Linked DNA regions of Homo sapiens: region 1 is linked to region 2. The links are contacts of gene promoters, found by promoter capture Hi-C in human tissues and cell types (Jung and others, 2019). All regions are on one chromosome and are shown on one strand. The core of a region is centred on a gene start or on the middle of the fragment in contact, and the rest is flanking DNA. Distances in the headings are between cores, read along the strand shown.

Region 1 (5,171 bases), core at 426-2,925, 73 kb after region 2:
TTTTCTTTTCCTGGGAAGAAGGTCTTCTTTCCAGGAAGGTGGTGTACGGGCAAGGCTGAAAACCCAGCCTTCATTCTGCCAGGCCAGTCCCCTCCTAGTCCCTGCTGCCCCAGGGCTGCAGAATCCTATCCTGGCTCCTGCCAGGCTCCCCTGCAGCTGGGCAAACAGGCAGTGGGTGGGACTCGGTATAATTTCCTCCTTGCCCGCCTGGGGTCTGCTAGGCTCTGGCTGAGCTCTCTGGCCTCTGCCCTGCACCCCCAACTTGGAGCCCAAAGGGGGTCATGGGTCTTTCTGCCCTGTGTCCCCAGGGATGCACCCGATGAGTTTGAGAAGGGGCTGCCTTCTCACCCAGAGAGAGGTGAGGCCATCCCCTCACCCAGAGAGGGGCTCCAGGCCCCACTCCAAGGGAGAGTCAGAACTTCCCGGTGCCTACAGGCGCACTGTGCTAAACCAGTGTGAGCATCCTGCGCTGATAATGCTACATGCATAAGCTGCGGATGCACAGGGGCTCAGACTCAGGGGACTGTGGGGAGTCCTGGCAGCCACATATACATCGGGCTCACCCCTGTAGCACCCCATCTAGAAAAGCCCATCCAGAGCCAGAAGGGGCTTCTGGGGATGGTTCCTGGAAGGGCTGGGTTCTGCTGTTCTCTGAGTGACCAATCCACCCATTCTTTCCAGAAATGGTCCTATCCCATCTCCTTCCCCTCCAGCCGCTCTCGGTTCCCTGCCCTCATCCACCCAGGATGTCACTGGGCCTGCTGCGAGTGGCTGCCCGGGGAAAAGGCCAGGAGCTCTGCAATGAGCCTGTAATCCCAGCACTTTGGGAGGCTGAAGTGGGTAGATACGCACTACACACAAGCCAGCACCAGGTTCCTCCCACCCAGGGGATGACAGAGGAGCTCCAGCTCACCACCGTGCCTCAAGTCCCCTGCTTAACTGTCCTATGTGAGCTCAGGGCCGCCCTCTGGGGGCTTTTCTTTTATTTATTTATTTATTTATTTATTTATTTATTTATTTATACTTTAAGTTTTAGGGTACATGTGCACAATGTGCGGGGCTCCCTTCCTCCCAGCAGCCATGCTGTCACGTGCTCCTTGCCCCGGAGAGGCAGGAATCTGTCCCGAAATGTCGAGCTGAAACGCTTCCTGGACGCTTGCTACAACCGTGGTCTTCAAATTCTACTAAATTTTTCCAGTGGCAGGATTCACTGTTGAAAGGAAAGCTTCCCACCTTGCCTGTTCCTCCTAACCCCAAAAAAGTCGGGCTTGTGATCTATGGGGAGAAGAATAGCCCCCGCCCCACACCCATCTGATGCCCAATTCTTCCCAATCCATCAGCCCCCAGCCCTGTCCTCATGTCAGGATCTGCCCGCGTCACTCTCCCCAGCCAAGAACTGGAGCCGAAAATGCAGTGTAGGCTGCCCCCTCGTGGGCAGTTAGAGAAACACATGTTTCTCATAGCTGCTAGCCTTTACCCACTGTCTTGGGGACCCCACCCCAAATAAAAAGGCAACCTAAGGAATAAGCGACTTTGTTTTGCAAATACAACTTCAAGACAAGTCTCAAGTCAGTCCTATGCAGAAATTCTAGAGAAGCCACTAAGAGTGGCCAGAGGACAGCCCCCCACTTCCTCTCATTCCCCAGCCTGGTCCTCATAGACCCACCTGGAGTAGAAATTCCTCGTGCAGGCCAGGCGTGCTGGCTCACACCTATAATCCCAGCACTTTGGGAGGCTGAGGCGAGCTGATCACATGAGGTCAGGAGTTCGAGGCCAGCCTGGCCAACAGGGTAAAACCCCGTCTCTACTAAAACTACAAAAAAAAAAAAAAAAAATAGCCAGGTATGGTGGCAGGCACCTTTAATCCCAGCTACTCAGTAGGCTGAGGCAGGAGAATCGCTTGAACCCAGGAGGCAGAGGTTGCAGTGAGCCAAGATCACGCCACTACACTCCAGGCAGGGTGACAGAGCAAGACTCCATCTCAAAAAAACAAAACAAAACAAAAAAAACACCAATTCCTCATCTAACTCCCTGCCAGGAGTTCAACTTCTGTTCTCATACTTTTAAGAACAGAGAGCTCACTACCCTCAAGGCTGATTCATTATATTTTCTGTGCTGGGGCACTGGGAACACTGATGGTGCAGATCCATTTGTAACCTCCTGGGACTCTCACATTGCTCACTTAGCTGGAGCAACAGGTGAGAAAACGAGGGTTGCAGGTGTGCCAAAGGCACAGGGATGAGAGCGGCCAGTTCTTCACGGACCTACACCTCCACCTGCCTCTTCTCAGGGATCTTATATTCAAAGGGATTAAATTCCAGGATCTTGGAGATGGCTGCAGTCCAGCTGCCCCCTTGCTTCTGCTTTCACTTGAGAATCAGCCGAAGTTCCCCGAGCACCTGCTCCATGCCAGGTCCCTCCTGGCACTTTGTCCCACTTAGTCCTTAAAGCTCGCTGTGATAGCGATGTGCTAATGCCCACTGGGCAGATGGGGACAGAGGCGCAGGAGGTCACTTGCCCAGGATGACACCTCTAGTCATTTGCGGAGTTGGATCTGGCCTCAAGCTTGCTGGTGGCTCTTGGAGCCCATGCAGAAGTGACTGGGGCAACACATGACACTCCAACTTGGCATTCCCCTCAAAGGGCCTGGACCAAGCCAAAAGCTGCGGAGAAGGCTCAGGGCAGACTGTGAAGTCAGGAGTTTGACCCCAGCCTGCTATGTCATGCTCCTCCTTCCTGGCCCTGCCTCCACCTGTGCCCTATCTCTGCCTCCCACCTCAAGGTCCAGGACTGTTGCAACCAGACCCTCCTACCCCAACCATGTCCAGCAGGAGATGGTCCCTGCACCAGAAGCTTCTGAAGGTCTACATGGAGGGCTGGCAGGCAGAAGGCAAACATCTCCCCCAACTTGCAGCCCTTCACTGCCGAGCAAACCTAGGACCTGGGGCCTGGGGTCTCTGCAGCTGCCATCTGGTGACCTCCTCATGGGGCAGGAAAAAGAGTTCAGGCTCTGGGGTGGTTCTGTAAATCACCCTCTGTGGGTCTCCCTTGCCCTACAGTTAAGATCTAGATGCTACTGTTTTCCTTGAAGGAAGATGATCAAATGAGAGCAAATGTGCAAACACCCAGCACACAGTAGGTGTTCAACAAAGTGTGCCTTCCTACCTGTCCTCACTTTGCTCTTATTACTCAGGAAAATCTGAGGATGTCAGCAACACTGAGGCCAATCCAGGATCCCCAGGGGCCAGCGTGGTGGTGGCCTTCAAATCAGGGAGCAGCCCACGGTAGGGGGCCCTGTGGGGTCCCAGCAGCCATATGCTGATCTGGCTCACCCACCCCCCAGCACCTCCTCTAGAAAAGTTATTCCACAGCCAAATGGGGCCCCTTCCAGCTCCCTGCCCTCATCCACCCAGGACCTGCCCTGTGATGCTCGCAATCGGGAACAGTCAGCTCTGGCTCCAGCCCTAGGTAAGCCTGGGACATGGTCCTCCCAGGAGCCAAACGGCTCATCTTTCCCAGAGCAGACATGCGCCTGCTCTCCAGGCGTGCCTCTGAGCCTGCCCGACAGGGCAGTGTGACCTTGCCTGCCTCTCTGTCGCTCTCTCATTCCTTCCCCTTGAGCTCTGTGTTGTGGCCACCAGGAGGCGCTGTTCCCCCTCAGACCCGAGTAGACCAACAGCCCAGCGCCACCAGAGACCAGACTGGATTCTAGATTTTCTCTTTTTTTTTGAGATGGAGTCTCGCTCTGTCGCCCAGGCTGGAGTGCAGTGGCATAATCTCCGCTCACTGCAACCTCCACCTCCTGGGTTCAAGCGATTTTCCTGCCTCAGTCTCTGAGTAGCTGGGACTACAGGCGTGCACTATCACGCCTGGCTAATTTTTTGTATTTTTAGTAGAGACAGGGTTTCACCACGTTGGCCAGGCTGGTCTTAAACTCCTGAGCTCAAGTGATCCGCCCACCTCGGCCTCCCAAAGTGCTGGGATTACAGGCGTGAGCCACCAAGCCAGGCCTGAATTCTAGATTCTGAAAGAGGCAGGAGGCGAGTAATCACCCAGAGTGCAAGGGAAGACAATGGCCTTTGTCTAATTGCTGTGAATCTGGCACTTCAAACGCAAGACCTGACCTCATCTTCCCACCCGCCATGATGGGGGTGGGGTCAGGGGGCACCAGTCAGGCTTCTAAGTCACAAACAACAGAGACTGACCTCCAGCTAACATTAGCAGAAAATAAATGCCCCGCTCACAAAGACAGAGAACCAAGCTGGGAATAGGGCAGTCACCCAGGGAAAGTAAGGGCTCCAGTGCGGCTGGAACAGGGCACTGCCAGCAAACATCATCTCCCTGGGCCCCAGTCACACATCCTGGCCCTAGCCGGCCTGACTCATCCCAAGCTTTGGTCCTGTCTCCCCAACATCTATCCTCACTCATTCAGCAAAGCGGGGGGTGGAGGTGGGTGTCAGCACCCGCGCCAGGCCCCACGCAAGGGGCTGGCTCCCAGCAGCCCACCTGGTGGGCCTCCTCAGTGAGCTGCCAAACACACTGCTGGCTGGTCACTTGGTGGAGACAGGCATTGAGAGCTGGCTACACCACCAGCTGCAGAGGACTTGGAGTCGCTGAGGGCTGCAGGCTGCAGGAGGCAACCTGGCTGCGGGGTGAGGGTGGGAATCTTTAGGGGATAAGAACTGGCCCCAGGCTGGGCGCGGTGGCTCACTCCTGTAATCCCAACACTTTGGGAGGCCAACACAGACAGATCATGAGGTCAAGAGATCGAGACGATCCCGGCCAACATGGTGAAACCCCGTCTCTACTAAAAATACAAAAATTAGCTGGGCGTGGTGGCATGCACCTGTAGTCCCAGCTACTCGGGAGGATGAGGTAGGAGGATTGCTTGAGCCCAGGAGGCAGAGGTTGCAGTGAGCTGATATCGCACCACTGTACTCCAGCCTGGGTGACAGAGCAAGACCCTGTCTCAGAAAAAAAAAAAAAGGATCGGCCCTGGGTTCGGTGGCTCACACCGTAATCCCAGCACTTTGGGAGGGCGAGGCAGGTGGATCACTTGAGGTCAGGATTTCTCAAGACCAGCCCGGCCAACATGGTGAAACCCCATCTCTACTGAAAATACAAAAATTAGCCAGGCATAGTGGCACACGCCTGTAGTCCCAGCTACTCAG
Region 2 (5,712 bases), core at 1,216-3,715:
AGATCACCGGAATTCCAGCTGTAAGTAGTGTCCACAAATCAAACCTCTCCATACATAGATTTTCAAACTCATGACTCCATCTAACTACCACAATCTGGCAAATTCCTCCATCTCGCCCACTCAGTTATAGTAAGACTCAGTAAGACCAGGCGCGGTGGCTCACACCTGTAATCCCAGCACTTTGGGAGGCTGAGGTGAGTGGATCACCTGAGGTCGGGAGTTCGAGACCAGCCCGGCCAACATGGTGAAACCCCATCTCTACTGAAAATACAAAAATTAGCCAGGCGTGGTGGTGCATGCTTGTAGTCCCAGGTACTTGGGAGGCTGAGGCAGGAGAATCGCTTGAACCAGGAGGCAGAGGTTACAGTGAGCAGAAATTGCACCACTGCACTCCGTCCAACCTGGGCAATGGAGTGAGACTCCATCTCAAAAAAAAAAACAAAAACTTCATAAATGCCTTGCTAAAATTCTGACACACTATCATTATGGTCACTACACTCCTTTGAGCCACAATTTGGATGTCCTGTCCTGTTGTTCTGGCTGAATTTAGGAGAACTCTAGTAAGCCCTTCTCTGGATAAGAAAAGAAAAATGATACATCTTCCATTTTGTATTAATTACAGAATCTCACAAATGGCAAGGATTTTAAACATTTTCTAATGTTGTTTTTCTTAGACAGAGTCTTGCTATGTTGCCCAGGCTGGCCTTAAGCAATCCTCCCACCACTGCACTCGGCCCTAGTCTAATATTTTTCTTTTCTTTTCTTTTTTTGAGAAGTTTAGTTCTTGTTGCCCAGGCTGGAGTGCAGTAGCATATCTTGGCTCACTGCAACCTCTCCCTCCCAGGTTCAAGCGTTTCTCCTGCCTCAGCCTCCCAAATAGCTGGGATTATAGGCACCCACCACCACCCAGCTAAGTTTTGTATTTTTAGTACATACGGGGTTTCACCACGTTGCCCAGACTGGTCTCCAACTCCTGACCTCAGGTGATCCACCCGCCTCAGCATCCCAAAGTGCTGGGATTACTGGCGTGAGCCACAGTGCCCGGCCTTAATATTTTTCAAACTATACGTCATGACCTATTAGGGGTCAGACTCAATTTAGTGAGTTGCAACCAATATTTTTTTAGAGTGCATCTTCTGTAGAAAGGGTAAGTAAACTTTTCATTGGTGTGTGTGTGTGTGTACACACTGAGTGTGCAGGGGCACAATAAGTCATGATGTATAATATATCTAACTGTGGGTCACAGGTAAAAAATTTTGAGACACTTTTCTAGCCCCACAGCCCTATGCCAAGGAGGCTCTACCAAGAAATTGGTAATAAACAAAATGTCATGTTTTTACATCATACAGAGAAACTAGCTAAGAGGATTTTGTGCTCAGTACACGTAATCTGCCATTCATTAAAAAAAAAAAAAAAGATTAGGATCCATCTGGGTGTCCAGTTGAAATACTAAACTGCTTGGAGACAGCCATTTCTGTTTTGGTGGGGTGAAGACCTGTATTTGAGACAGCAGACTGAAATCGGTTTGGTCTGTGGCGAAGGAAGAGAAGAAAAACCATTCTGGGTCGCGAGTTCCTCACCTGTAACCACAGGAGAAGACTGTTGGCTTGGTCAGTTGATTTTCAACTAATCTCCCAATTGAAGAGTTAGGCGAAGCAATTGCTATTGGGAGATTAACTGAAAATTAACTGACCAAGCCAACAAGGACTATGCCTCCCACAAACCAAAACACTTTAACCACTCAGCAAGTCAAGTATTGATACATACAATCAATATCACACAAAGTGTACTGAAAAGAACCACAGACTTGCATCAAAGGCAGAAATGAATCCAGGGATAACTTCCTGGGATTCGAAGATGTGACCTGGTAGGTATAAATTTCTCAGGCATCCTCTTTTTCTACCCTCCAGTTCATCTCCGTCCTCAAGCTATCAGTCATGGATGTGGCACTGGCGTTCTTCTCTGCCACCGTATCTCATTATGCAAAGGGAAACTGAGGCACGAAGAACAGAGTGAGTGAGCCAAAGAACTGCAGCAGCCACCAACAAGGCTGGACTAAGGGCCCAAGCAGCTAATGCCTCACTCCCCACACAATCCCCATACTATTTAGAATCCTGCAGTCCTCAGCCTTCCACCTCAAACCAAACTCCTGGGGCCGCCCGTAGTACGTGGTCCCCTGCTCATCCGATGAAGCCCCCAGCTCTTGCCTGCCTGCCTGCCTCTATAAAGGTCTACGAGGCCTGGAACTCTGAAGCCTAAAGCAACCCCGGCAGCCCCCTCCCACGACCGTCCACAAACCAGTAGCCTCCCTTCGCTCCCACCTCCGCGCCGACGGGCCTGGAGCTCCTCCGCACACCACACCAAGCCGACCACTCAACACCAGAGGACCCACAGAAGAATTCTCTCCACGCCCACCCCCACAGCATCGGCCTTCACCACCGCCGCCGCTGCCGGAAGCGCCCCCACGTCTCCACGCCACCACCGTGAGGTCACTTCCGGCGCGACACCTTGGAATCCAGGGCCGTCAATTGAGGGGCGTGGCACCCGGGAAATTTAAGAGGTTGGAAGAACGTCCCTTCGGCCTTACAGAATTGCGCTTGGGTAGTCATTTTGCCCTCCACGCTTACTTATGTCCTGTGGCGTCTTGGCTGGAATCGGGGCTCTACCCACGACTCCCCAGCCTCGATGCCTGGGCCCCCCTCTTGCAGGCTCGATGAAAAGCACCCGCTTCCCCTCCTGTTACCCCAGCGCCAATCGCAGAGCTGGAGCGGAGGACTTTCAGGGAGGCCTGGTGACGTGACAGCCCCTCCGTGCTAAACTGCAGCTGTGGGACTTAATAAGTGCGACAACCCCCTGATGGATTAAAGAAAACAAGATATTCCTGCCGTGGTCGATCTTCAAAGCGTATCAGCTTCAGCCCTTTTGGGGGTTAAAATCAGCCAGTCCGTGCTTGACTGCTCTCCCTTCCCCCATACTCAGTACACAGGAAAGTGCCGCTCTTCTACCCCTGGCATTTTAGAGTCTTGATTTGTGGGGAGACGGGAAAGCATGCGTTTAGGGCCAAGACCGTGTAATGAGGAATATTGCACAGCCTTGAAGCCTGACACCTGGTTTGGGAACCACTACTTGGGCGAATAGCATAGAGTAGGGTAGCAGTTCCAAACCTAGCTCTACAAAATCAGTTGAAGAACTTTGTAAAATCTACACTTTCTAGGGGACTGCTTCACCCTTCCCCCTCCATCACCAGAGATTCCCTAGGTCAGAAGGGGTCCTTGTCTTTTAAAATTACTGTTATTAATGAACACTTATAGAGCAGTTTTTGGTTCAGGGCAAAACTGAACAGAAAGTACAGAGTTCCCATATATCCCCTGTACACACAGGCACATACACAACTTGTCCCCTCATGGACATCTTGTGCTACAGTGGTACATTTGGTAACAATTGATTACCCAACTTTGACACATCATTATCACCCAGAGTCCATAGTTTACATTAGAGTTTACTCTCGGTGTTGCACATTCTGTGGGTTTTGACATATATGTAATGACATGTATCCACCATTATGGTATCATACACGATAGTTTCACTGCCCTGAAAATCCTCTGTCCTCTGCCTATTTATCCTTCTCAGTCCCCTAACCACTGGCAACCACTGCTCCTTTTACTGTCTCCATAGTTTTGCCTTTTCCAGAATCCCATATAGTTGGAATCATACAGTATGCAGCCTTTTCACATCGGATTCTTTCACTTATGCACTTAAAGTTCTTCCATGTCTTTTCATGGCTTGATAGCTCATTTCTTTTTTGTGCTGAATAATAATATTCCATCGTCTGGATGTGCTGCGGTTTATCCATTCACCTACTGAAAGACATCTTGGTGGCCTCCAAGTTTGGGTAATTATGAATAAAGCCGCTATACATCATGTGCAGATTTTTGTGTAGACATGAGTTTTCAATTCATCTGGGTAAATACCAAGGAGTGCAACTGCTGGATTGGATGGTATATTTAGTTTTGGGAGAAACTACCAAACTGCCTTTCAAAGTGGCTGCATCATTTTGCATTCCCACAGCAGTGAATGAGGGTTTCTGTTGCTCCACATCCTTGTCAGCGTTTTGTGGTGTCAGTATTTTGCCGTTCAAGTAAGTGTGTAGTAGTATCTTATTGTTTTAATATGCAATTCCCTAATGACATATGATATTGAACATCTTTTCATATACTTACTTGCCATGTGTATATCTTCTTTGATGAAGTGTTCATTCAGGTATTTTGCCCATTTTTACATTGTGTTATTTTCTTGTTGTGATTTAAGAGTTCTGGGTATATTGTAGATAACAGTCCTCTATCAGATACGTCTTTTATAATATTTTCTCCTAGTCTGTGGCTTGTCTTCTCATTCTTCTTTTGAAGAGCAGAAGTTTTAAATTTTAATGAAGTCCAGCTTATCAATTATATTTTTCACAGATTATGCTATTGGTATTGCCCTAAAGTCATTGCCATTCCCAAGATCAGTTAGGTTTTCTCCTGTGTTGTCTTCCAGGAGTTTTATAGTGTTCCATTTTACATTTAGGTCTACAATCCATTCTGAGTTAATTTTTATGAAGGGTGCAAGGTCTTTGCCTAGATAATTTTTTTTTTTTTTTTGAGACGGAGTCTCACTCTGTTGCCCAGGCTGGAGTGCAGTGGCACGATCTCAGCTCACTGCAATGTCTGCCTCCTGGGTTCAAGTGATTCTCCTGTCTCAGCCTCCCAAGTAGCTGGGATTACAGGCACCCGCCACCACACCTGGCTAGTTTTTGTATTTTTAGTAGAGGCAAGGTTTCACCATGTTGGCCAGGCTGGTCTCGAACTCCTGATCTCAATTGATCTGCCCACCTCGGCCTCTCAAAGTGCTGAGATTACAGGCGTGAGCCACCGTACCCGGCCTGATACATTTTTATGTGTGTGAAAATTCAGTTGTTCCAACATAATTTGTTGAAAAACCTATCTTTGCTCCATTATATTGCTTTAACTCCTCTGTCAAAGATCAGTTGACTACGTTTATGTGGGTCTACTTCTGGATTGTTTATTCTTTCACCAATACCACATTGTCATTATTACTGTAGTTTATAGTAAGTCTTGAAGTTGGGTAGTATCAGTCCTCCAACTTTGTTCTCCTTTAATAGTGAGCTGGCTCTTCTAGGTCTTTTGTATCTCCATATCAATTTTACAATCAGTTTGTCGACATCCACAAAAATAATATGCTGATACTTGGATTGGGATTGCATCGAATCTATAGATCAGGTTTGGAAGAACAGACATTTTGACTATATTTTCTTTCTATCTGTGAACATGAAATATTTCTCAATTTATGTAATTCTTTTATATCTTTGATCAGAGTTTTGTAGTTTTACTCATATAGCTCTTGTATATGTTTTGCTGTATAGATTTATAACCTGATGACTTTTTTTTTTTTTGAGACAAAGTTTCACTCTTGTTGCCCAGGCTGGAGTGCAGTGGCACGATCTCAGCTCACCGCAACCTCTGCCTCCTGGGTTCAAGTGATTCTCCTGCCTCAGCCTCCCGAGTACCTGGGATTACAGGTATGCACCACCACGCCCAGCTAATTTTGTATTTTTAGTAGAGATGGGGCTTCTCCATGTTGGTCAGGCTGGTCTTGAACTCCCGACCTCAGGTGACCTGCCCGCCTCAGCCCCCCAAAGTGCTGGGATTACAA

What was found. The method cuts DNA at HindIII sites, captures the fragments that hold promoters and counts their contacts. A contact is called where the count stands out against the background at its distance.
Region 1: a fragment that was not itself captured here is called in contact with the fragment with the promoter of EDC3 in region 2 in 2 of the 25 tissues and cell types used here (H1 embryonic stem cells and dorsolateral prefrontal cortex).

What each region holds. Positions count from the first base shown.
Region 1 is chr15:74,767,604-74,772,774 of GRCh38, forward strand. No RefSeq gene overlaps it. Among named protein-coding and RNA genes, the nearest start is that of CSK, 12 kb to the right of the region's middle. RefSeq lists enhancers at 1-508, 3,673-4,388, 4,389-5,102. The HindIII fragment of the contact is 3,893 bases long and covers 1-3,622 here.
Region 2 is chr15:74,693,559-74,699,270 of GRCh38, forward strand. EDC3 (enhancer of mRNA decapping 3) reads right to left here and starts at 2,466. Exons shown (of 7, transcript NM_025083.5): 1 at 2,322-2,466. RefSeq lists an enhancer at 2,426-2,515. The HindIII fragment of the contact is 33,216 bases long and covers 1-5,712 here.